Linked DNA regions of Homo sapiens: region 2 is linked to region 1. Evidence: promoter capture Hi-C in 16 types of primary human blood cells and fetal thymus (Javierre and others, 2016). All regions are on one chromosome and are shown on one strand. The core of a region is centred on a gene start or on the middle of the fragment in contact, and the rest is flanking DNA. Distances in the headings are between cores, read along the strand shown. Region 1 holds the start of ATP6V0E1 (ATPase H+ transporting V0 subunit e1). Region 2 has its middle 43 kb from the start of BNIP1.

What was found. The method cuts DNA at HindIII sites, captures the fragments that hold promoters and counts their contacts. A CHiCAGO score of 5 or more calls a contact.
Region 2: a contact is called between a fragment that was not itself captured here and the fragment with the promoter of ATP6V0E1 in region 1, in 2 of 17 cell types (total CD4 T cells and non-activated CD4 T cells). The highest score is 5.2, in total CD4 T cells.

Annotation. Positions count from the first base shown.
Region 1 is chr5:172,981,506-172,986,809 of GRCh38, reverse strand. It overlaps ATP6V0E1 (ATPase H+ transporting V0 subunit e1), which reads right to left and starts at 3,039. Exons shown (of 4, transcript NM_003945.4): 1 at 2,846-3,039. The coding sequence starts at 2,949. RefSeq lists a silencer at 2,985-3,164 and an enhancer at 2,930-3,224. The HindIII fragment of the contact is 8,334 bases long and covers 1-4,771 here.
Region 2 is chr5:173,184,836-173,190,139 of GRCh38, reverse strand. No RefSeq gene overlaps it. Among named protein-coding and RNA genes, the nearest start is that of BNIP1, 43 kb to the right of the region's middle. RefSeq lists a silencer at 2,378-2,497. The HindIII fragment of the contact is 1,672 bases long and covers 1,613-3,284 here.

The DNA of each region.
Region 1 (5,304 bases), core at 1,790-4,289:
CTCAAAAACAAACAAACAAACAAACAAACAAAAACAACAAAAAACCAACCTTATCTTCCCCATCCATCTCCTTGGCCTGCTTCTTGGGCTGTTTCAGGGGCTTCTTCCTGCCATCTGTGAAAATGGACATGGTGCCTGCAGCCTCTTCCCCAGACTCTGACACTGGACTTGTTTCATTTTTGAAGAGACAGGGTCTCACTGTTGCCCAGGCTGGAGTACAGTGGTGTGATCATAGCTTACTGCATCCTGGAACTCCTGGTCTCAAACACTCCCATCCCCCTCACTCAGCCTCCCCAGTAGCTAGGACCACAGGTGTGCACCACCATACCCAACTAATTAAAAAAAATTTTTTTCAGAGATAAGGTCTCGCTGTGTTGCCCAGGCTGGTCTCAAGCAATCCTCTTGTCCGGCTTCCCAAAGTGCTGCATATTATGGGTGTGAGCCACCGTGCCCAGCCTTGCTTGTGTTTTAAGCCAAGTGTTAGTACAAGAGTCAAAAAGTTAAAAATAATTCAAAAGTTTAAGTAAAAAAGTTACAGGAAGCTAAGGTTAATTTATTTTTGAAGAAAGAAAAATATTTTTTCAGAAATTTCATGTAGCCTAAGTATACAGTGTTTCTAAAGTCCACCATGGTATACAGCAATGTCCTGGTTCTTCACATTCACTCACCAGTCACTGACTCACTCACAGCAATTTCCAGTCCTGCAAGCTCCATTCATGGTAAGTGCCCTACACAGGTGGACCATTTTAAATCTTTGATATGTATTTTTACTGTACCTTTTCTATGTTTAGATACACAAATACCATTGTGTTACATTTGTCTATACAGTATTTAAGGACAGTAACATGCTGTACAGGTGTGTAGCCTACCTAGAGGCAACAGGTTCTACCAAATAGCCTAGGTGTGTAGTAGGCTGTACCATCTGTTTAAGTAAACTCTTTGTTCACACAAAAGCCCAACTAACACATTTCTCAAACATAGTCCTTTTGTTAAGTGACACATGTCTATATATCACTAGCTGGTCAAATACCTGAATCATGACACTCTCTAGGGCTAAGTGGAAACAGGATGGGTTTCATTACCCTGGATAATGGCAATGACATCCCAAGGAAGGGGAGAGAATGGTCTTTAAGAAAGGAATTGTCAGTGCTATTAGTACATTAATAAATGCTTCTTTGAGTACAAAGGCCATAAAGGCAGACAGTAGGGTAATGAAACAGTTGAAGATATAAACACAACAAAGAAGCACTTTGTTGTTCGCTAACTCCAGTAGGAAAAACAAGTCTAATTAACTTTGGTAAATACAATTGCTTTAATAATGCCAGAATTCTGACTCTGTCCATCAACCTCTATAGGTAGGAGAGATGACCCCATATAACTGGTGTTACCAGGGAGGAGGAACTTGATACTTAAAAATGATAAAAATTCATCTACCATGTATCTTTTAAAAAAAAATAATTTTAGACTAATAAAGCAAATGTATCCCAGGGAGCAAAAGGGGTTCAGGTCACAAAATATTAGGGAAGTAGTAAAAATCTTTTTCTTTCTTTTTTTTTTTTTTTTTTGAGACGGAGTCTCGCTCTGTCGCCCAGGCTGGAGTGCAGTGGCGCGATCTCGGCTCACTGCAAGCTCTGCCTCCTGGGTTCACGCCATTCTCCTGCCTCAGCCTCCCGAGTAGCTGGGATTACAGGCGCCCGCCACCACGCCCGGCTAATTTTTTGTGTTTTTAGTAGAGACGGGTTTCACCGTGTTAGCCAGGATGGTCTCGATCTCCTGACCTCGTGATCCGCCCGCCTTGGCCTCCCAAAGTGCTGGGATTACAGGCGTGAGCCACGGCACCTGGCCAAAAATCTTTTTCTTTTAATAAAGACAATAGAACTATTCACTCAACAGGTATTTATTGGGTGCCTCCTGTGCATACAAGGTACTATGAAAACCAGGCACTATGAAGCCACCAATTAGGTTCAAGAATAAAGCAAGAGATGGTGTTTCTGACAAACTGACTTCAGTCGAAGTTTCACCTCTCATCATCTTGAACTGAGAAAAAAATGACTGAGAAGCAAAAGAGGAACCAGGAAGAGGGTGTTCCAAGGCTCCTTTGAAGATTAAGCCTCTATTTTATACTACAGTTAAAAAGTTTAATTCCAAAAGAGACAAAGCTCTAACCAACAAAGAAGTCTGGAAAAACAAAATCTTTCTTAGCCAATCATTCTAAGCACTTCTTACACTCACATACAAGAGCCGGAGCGCCCTCCAAAAGGCATGACGCAGGGGTTTCTCAACAATACCTCCTGCTCTTTGGTAATTAATCTCGCTTTAGATCAGGCCCCAACCGCCTCCTGGCGCCCACTAGATGCAAGGCCTGGGCTCAATGTTGTCGAAGGAGCTTGTTCTGTACGCAACCGCGACAGCATGGGAGGCAGAGAAGCCAATTTCTGTTTTATTTATTTGATCCTTAAGTTCAGGCAAACGAGGCCTCATGTGGGTGGAAGGCAGGGCTAAAGGGGGACAGTCGACTAGGGACAAACCCCAGTTTCTCCCAGATTCGGCCTGCTCATTTCCGACTGCACCTCCCCACACAGGACTATGATGAGAAAAAATTCCCCTGAAACTCGTTTCCAAGGGGGGTCCACCAAAGGTCACCCTCCACTCGCTCAGGCCGGAGGACACTGAAGCTGCTGCGAAAAGGAACACAAGGAGTTCCGCCGGGTCGGGGGCCTGACTCTGCAGCGCGGGGGGCGCCCATGCAACGTTCTCTGACCCGTGTGGGGGTCGTGCCTTTCCCCGCCCCGGCCTGCTAGCTCCTCACCGCCCGTTCCTCCCAAGGCGGGCCTCACGCACTTACCCCCGGTTAGGACCCTTAGGGATGAACCAAGGCACCAAGAAGCCGACGAAGCCCCAGAACACGCTCATCACAATGAGAGGCACAGTGAGGCCGTGATACGCCATGGTCGCCGCCTGAGCGCCAACCCCTACCCCGTCGCCTCACTCGGATCCCACCAGGAAGTGTCAATAGCTGACCGCGTGACCAGCGTGTGCAAGCCCCGCCTCCCGCGCCCCCACGTGACCCGCGCGCCGGCCTCCGCCCCTCGGGGAGCCCAGAGGCAGAGCCCCGCCTTCGCCTGGCTGTCTCCTGGCTGCAGCTCCTTGGAGGCATGTCGCTCACCCCAGAGCTAGGGATTCGGTCACCCGGGGCTCAGCAAAGTGTTCTGATGAGAACTTGGCCCTTTTAGACAAAGAGTGTAGTTATCTACAGCCTCATCTACTTATGCAACAGACATAGAGAACTTAACAATAGTTGTCCCTTACTATTCTGAATTCCCGTGTGCCTGGCACTGGGCCATGATCTTTAAGTTCATGAGCCCCAGGCCGGGTGCGGTGGCTCACGCCTGTAATCCCAGCACTTTGGCAGGCTGAGGCAGGCGGATCACTTGAGGTCAGGAGTTCGAGACCAGCCTGGCCAACATGGTGTAACCCTGTCTCTACTAAAAATACAAAAATTAGCTGGGTGTGGTGGTGCGCGCCTGTGGTCCCAGCTACTCAGGAGGCTGAGGCAGGAGAATCAATTGAACTCGGGAGGTGGAGGTTGCAGTGAGCCGAGATTGCGCCACTGCACTCCAGCCTGGGCAACAGAACAACACTCTGTCTCAAAAGAAAAAAAAAAAAGTGCATGAGCCCGTGTTGAACTCCTCACTTCAGCCTATGAGGTAATTGTAATTATTATCCCCACTTTGCAGTTGAAGAAACTGAGGCCCAGGGAAGAGGATAAGGATCTTGCCCAAAGTCACATAGTAAGTGGCAGGGCCAGGATTCAACCCCTGATTATCTGATTTTCAAGGCCAGAGCTCTTAACTAGCGCACCACTATTTATCTTGTGTGCTGTGCCAGGCTCTGGAGTTACAGAAGTCAATCAGGCACCCCTGAGGGAGTTCACATTCTGGGGAGCAGATGACCTTGCAAACAGGCGACTCAATGCAGTGTGAAAGTAAGTGGACGACCCTGCAAGGCTTTCTACCCAACTCGTCCTTGCTGAGCCTTGAAAGACAAGTAGAAATTAGCCAGAATGGTAAGAAGAAAAACAGGCCAGGCATGGTGGCTCACACCTGTAATCCCAGCACTTTGGGAGGCCGAGGCGGGCAGATCACCTGAGGTCAGTAGTTCAAGACTAGCCTGGGCAACATGGTGAAATCCCATCTCTACTAAAAATACAAAAATTGGCCAGGTATGCACCTGTAGTCCCAGCCACTCAGGAGGCTGAGGAACAAGAACCGCTTGAATCCCTGGGAGGCAGAGGTTATAATGAGCTGAGATCGCACCACTGCACTCCAGCCTTGGCGACAGAGTGAAACTCTGCCTCAAAAAAAAAAAAAAAAAGAAAGAAAGAAAAAGAAAGGTAAAACAGTTTTGTTTGTTTGTTTGTTTTTTGAGACAGGGCCTTGCTCTGTCACCCAGGCTGGAGTGCAGTGGTGCTCCATAGCTCACTGCTGCCTGGAACTCCCGGGCTCAAGCCATCCTTCTGCCTCAGCCTCCTGAGGAGCTGGGACTACAGGTGTGCACCACCACACCAGCTAATTTTTAAAATGTTTTGTAGAGACAGAGCCTCGCTATGTTGCCCCGGTGGGTCTTAAACTCCTGGCCTGAAGGGATCCTCCACCTCAGCCTCCCAAAGTGCCGGGATTACTGGCATAAGCCACCGTGCTGAGCTGATAAACAGGGCTTAGAACGCTTGCTGAGAATTTTCACATATGTTAGTTATAGTATGCGCCAAGCTTGGAATAGACAAGGAAGCCAGTTCTCAGAGAGGTTGAGGAGCTTGATGATAAAGCTTACAGGTGAAAGCAAGATAGAAAGCAGGTCTTTAAATGCAATGTGCTTTACCAGGGACCATGGTTTCCTTGCAGTAGCCACATTGCATTAACTCCTGATTTCTTTCATCAAGTAGAATGGATTCCTGTATTAAACGGGAAACTGGACCAATAATCTTCAACATCTGTACCAACTTTTCGGACATGATTCTAAGCCTTTAACCTGATCAGCAATGTAGAAAACTAGTTTGTCTCCTTTGTGCTCATAATGCTTCCCCAAAACTTAGCCCCAGCAGAAATCCTATGGTCCTTAAGTTCTAGCCCAAACACCGCCTTCTCCAAGACCCATTTCATCCTGTTAGCGCATCTCTTTGGCCTTGTTGTATATGTATCTTGACCAACCCTCTACTAGAGGGCCAACTCCTTGAGAATAGGCACTGTTTCACTGATCTTTGTTTCCGGGAGGACTTTATACATAGAATGTGCTCAATAAATAACT
Region 2 (5,304 bases), core at 1,199-3,698, 200 kb before region 1:
CTCAGCATCACACAATATACCCATGTAACAAACCTGCACATGATGTACCTCCTGAATTTAGAGTTTTTGAAAAACGAAATATGATTCCAAGTGAAAGAAGCCAATCACGCAATATTGCATACTGTATAATTCCACTTATATGAAATGTCCAGAATAAGCAAAGCTACAGAGACGCAAAGTAGATTGTGATTGCCGAGGGATGGGGTGGTTGAGGGGGGAATTGAGGGATTAAAGGGTTTCATCTGGAGGCGATGAAAATGTTCTAAAATTGACTGTGGTGATCGTTATCCAACTCTGTGAAAATACTAAAAGCCACAGCATTGTACATGATAAATGGGTAAATCATATGTGAGTATATACATCAATAAAGCTGTTTCTCAAACAAGAATGTTATAGAGATGGTCTCTGATGGTATGTAACCACTTGAGATTGGCTTTTCTCACTCAGCATCATTCCGTCATAGTCCCTCTCAGCAGTTGCCCAGAGCAGTAGGTGGACCCTCCGCATTGCTCAGTAGTATTCCAGTGTACAGACATCCCAGAGTGTGTTTAACCATTCACCTGCTGGATATTTGAGTTGTGTCCCTTTTTTTTTGGCTATTAAAGCTGCTGTGAACATTTGTGTACAGATGTTTGTATGGACATACATTTTCATTTTGCCAAGATGAATACCGAAGTGAATGTTTCACTTTAAGTGTCTCTGTTATCCAGCACACCTCTGCTAAGAAATGACTATCTGCATCTGGGAGCAGTGGTTCATGCCTGTAATCCTAGCACCTTGGGAAGCTGAGGTGGGAAGATCGCTTGAGGCCAGGAGTTTGAGACCAGCCTGGGTAACATAGTTAGATCCTATCTCTACAAAAAATAAAAATGAAAAAATTAGCCAGTCATGGAAGTGTATGCCTGTGGTCCCAGCTACTCAGGAGGCTGAGGTAGGAGGATCGGTCGAGCCCAGGAGGTAAAGGCTGCATTGAGCTATAAGTGCACCACTGCACTCCAGCCTGGGATGGCAGAGAGATTCTGTCTCTATAAAATAAAAATAAAAGAAGTTACTCTCTGCAAACGCTTTAAATTTTGTGTTTTAAGGAACCATGTAGTTAGTCAATTTTCTAAATGGAAATCAGGCCAGGTATGGTGGCTCACGTCTGTAATCCCAGCACTTTGGGAAGCCGAGGCAGGTGGATCACCTGAGGTCAGGAGTTCGAGAACAGCCTGGCCAACATGGCAAAACCCCATCTCTACTACAAATTCAAAAATTAGCTGGACATGGTGACACATGTCTGTAGTCCCAGCTACTCAGGAGGCCAAGGTTGGAGGATCGCTTGAGCCCAGGAAAGTGAAGGCTGCAGGGACCGTGATCATGCCACTGCATTCCAGCGTGAGCAACAGAGCAAGACTCTGTCTCTAAAAAAAAGAAAAAAAATTACCACATTTTTAGATTATATAATTCTGATTCAAAGGTAAAATACAAAGAGGGGAAAATATATTTAACATAAAATTTGAATAAAATATTTTCCAAAATCTTAAGGAAGACTTACTTCCATAAAAATAATTTTTATGTCAGGCTTCAGGCTCAGTGGGCACCCGTGAGTCCTGATTTAATGAGACAAGCTTCAAATTCTAGGTTTTTTTTAAATGATTCTTCATCATTGATTGATTGATTGATTGATTGATTGATTGATTGATTTTTAAGAGACATGGTCTCATTCTGTTGCCCAGGCTGGAGTGCAATGGTGCAACCATGGCTCCCTGCAGCTTTGACCTCTGGCCCCAAACAATCCTCCCGCTTTGGCCTCCCAAAGTGCTGGAATTACAGGCATCAGCCACTGTGACCAGTTTCCTCTTCTTTCTGTTAAATGACATATCATCCCTTGAATGCAAGAGTTTCAGATTCTTAGTAATCATCATTGCCAAGAAATTTTGCTTTTACAAGTAAGTGACTTTTAAAAAGGTTTAAAAATTGTGTTTTTCTACCTTAAAATTTTTACAATGGTCAAAACTACACATAAAGGATCACCCTTTCTTTCCTTGGCAATTATGATATAGGAACTTCTTAGGATTTCTAATCCAGTCCAACTTTCTTTTTTTTCCTTTTTGAGACAGAGTCTCACTCTGTCGCCCAGGCTGGAGTGCGGTGGTGCAATCTCGGCTCACTGCAACCCCTGCCTCCCAGATTCAAGAGATTCTTGTGCCTCAGCCTCCCGAGTAGCTGGAGTTATAGGCATGCACCATCACTCCCGGGTAATTTTTTTTTTTTTTTTTGTATTTTTAGTAGAGACAGGATTTCATTATGTTGACCAGGCTGGTCTTGAACTCCTGACCTCAAGTCATCTGCCTGCCTTGGTCTCCCAAAGTGCTGGAATTATAGGCGTGAGCCAGTCCGATTTTTTCATACTGAGTATGTCACAATAATGCTGACACTCTAACTTGTAGAGCACACATGATTGACTGCAATGGTTGCCTGCAGGTGGCACAGTTACCCCTGTACCCCTACAGTCACCCAAACAGAAGCATCTGTGTGAAGACAGAGCAGGCAGCCCGGAGCTGGGCCTGCCCAGGCACCTGCCCTCATCCTTCCCTCCAACCCCTAGGGGGCCTCCCTTCAGTCTGTACCCGCTACTCCTGGGCACCTGCAATGCAAGCTCACCAGCCCCTGTGGCTCTTGCCCAAACCAGACAGCATAATGCCTGGCGGCTGGCTACTGTCCTCCACATCCAGGCAGCAAGCAGCTCTTTCTTGATGGCACTCAGGACCCCGCCTAGATCAGGGCATACCACCAAGGCTCACGGTGCTCCTGAGGCCGCTGGGGCACCACAGGGTGCTTCTCAGGTCCTGTCACTCAACTGGGCCTCCCCAAAGTGGGCTCACAGCCCAGGGGCTCCAGTTGCCCCAGGCTCTGCTAGGCTGCCCAGAGGACTCAAGGTGTGGATATCTCAGGCACACCTGAGTGTTGAGCTCAGCACACGTGTATGCTGGGCACGGCATGAGTGTAAGGAAGCGCTGGCATACAGAATAAAATCCCCTGGCTAGGAAGCAAGCTACTGCTGACTCCACCGAAGCCCCTGCACGCCCCTCCCAGTACCATCTCCCCTCGCCCCTGCAGAGGCAGACACCATCCTGACTTTGGTGTCTATTCTTTTCATTCGTTTCTTTCTATTTTACCACATGCGTATATATCCATTAAAATATGTAATTGTTTTTCATGTTTAAAACTTTATGCAAGGAATATTATTCAGTGTTAAAAAGGAAGGAAATTCTGACCTATGCTATAACATGAGTGAAGCTTGAGGACATCAGGCTAGGTGAAATAAGCCAGTCACAAAAAGATAAATACAGTATGATTCCACTTATCGGAGCCGAGTAGTCAAAATCATAGAGACAGGAAGTGAAATGCTGGTTGTCAGGGCCTGGGGGAAGGGGAGAGTGGGGAGTTGTATAATGGGGACAGAGCTTCACTTTCACAAGATAAACAGTTCTGAGGCCGGGTGCAGTGGCTCACGCCTGTAATCACAGCACTTTGGGAGGCCGAGGCAGGCAGATCACCTGAGGTCAGGAGTTTGAGACCAGCCTGGCCAACATGGCAAAACCCTGTCTCTACTACAAATATAAAAATAAAAAATAAAACTAACTGGGCATGGTGGTAGGCACCTGTAGTCCCAGCTACTTGGGAGGCTGAGGCAGGAGAATCGCTTAGAACCTGCGAGGCAGAGGTTGCAGTGAGCCAAGATCGTGCCACCACACGCCAGCCTGGGCAACAAGAGCGAAACTCTGTCTCAAAAGAAAAAAAGAGTTCTGGAGCTGGATGGTGCTGATGGTTGCGTAACATCATGAGTGTATTTAATACCACTGAAATAAATACACTTACAAATGGTTAAGATAGTCAATTGTATGTTATATGTATTTTACCACAACCAAAAAATGTAACTTTACACAAATAGTAGTCAACTATGAGAATCGTTCTGCGGCTGCTTTTTTTGATTGACATCGTGAGATTGATCCATGTTGATACACACAGATGCCAAACATTCCTTTTCCTGCTGCATTGTAGTCCACTGAAGAAATACACTCCAATTTCTTCATCCTTTAGATGTGCATTTCAGTTGTTTCAAATATTCGCTATTACAGACAATGCATTAATGTTCTTCCTGTGTAGACGTGCACTTACGAAGCTGCCCAAGAGAGGCTCTAAGCTATCAGTCCTCAAAGTGTGGTCGGAGGAACCCTAGGGAGTCCCTGAGACCCTTTCAGGGGCCTGTGAGAACCTCCCTTTTGTTTTTTTCTTTTATTTATTTTTTTTATTTCTGAGATTTTGGTGCACCTATCACCCGAGCAGTGTACGCTGCACCCAATTTGTAGTCTTTTATCCCTCACCCCACTTCACCCTTTCCCCCAACCCCCCAAAGTCCAATGTATCATTCTTATGCCTTTGCGTCCTCACAGCTTAGCTCCCACTTATGAGTGAGAACACACGATGTTTGATTTTCCATTCCTGAGTTACTTCACTTAGAATAATAGTCTCTGATTCCATCCAGGTTGCTGTGAATGCCATTATTTCATTCTTTTTTCGGCTGAGTTATAGTCCACGGTATATATACCATTTTCTTTATCCACTCGTTGATTGATGGGCATTTGGGTTGGTTCCACATTTTTGCAATTGCGAATTGTGCTGCTATAAACATCCGTGTGCAGGTATCTTTTTTGTATAATGACTTCTTTTCCTCTGGGTAGATACCTAGTAGTGGGATTGCTGGATCAAACAGTAGATCCACTTTTAATTCTTTAAGGAATCTCCACGGTTTTCCATAGTGGTTGTACGAGTTTACACTCCCACCAACAGTGTAAAAGTGTTCCCTTTTCACCACGTCCACACCAACATCTATTATTTTTTAATTTTTTTATTATGGCCATTCTTGCAGGAGTAAGTTGGTATCTCATTGTGGTTTTGGTTTGCGATGTTGAGCATTTTTCCATACGTTTGTTGGCCATTTGTATATCTTCTTTTGAGAACTGTCTATTCATGTCCTTAGCCCACTCTTTGATGGGATTGTTGGTTGTTTTCTTGCTGATTTGTTTGAGAGAATCTCCCTTTCTAACTACATATCTGTGTGAATAAAGCCAGATATGCTTTTGCGTATTTGCGTATTTTAACCAATACAGCTGCAGATGCATTAATGAGACTCCAGTGACTTCTACTGAATAAGATACTAAGGAGATTTCCAAAAATGCAAAACAGTGCCTTCTTCTCATTAATTTTTTCATTTTGAAAAAGCATGGTTATTTTTTACTAAAAAGATGTTATGTTACA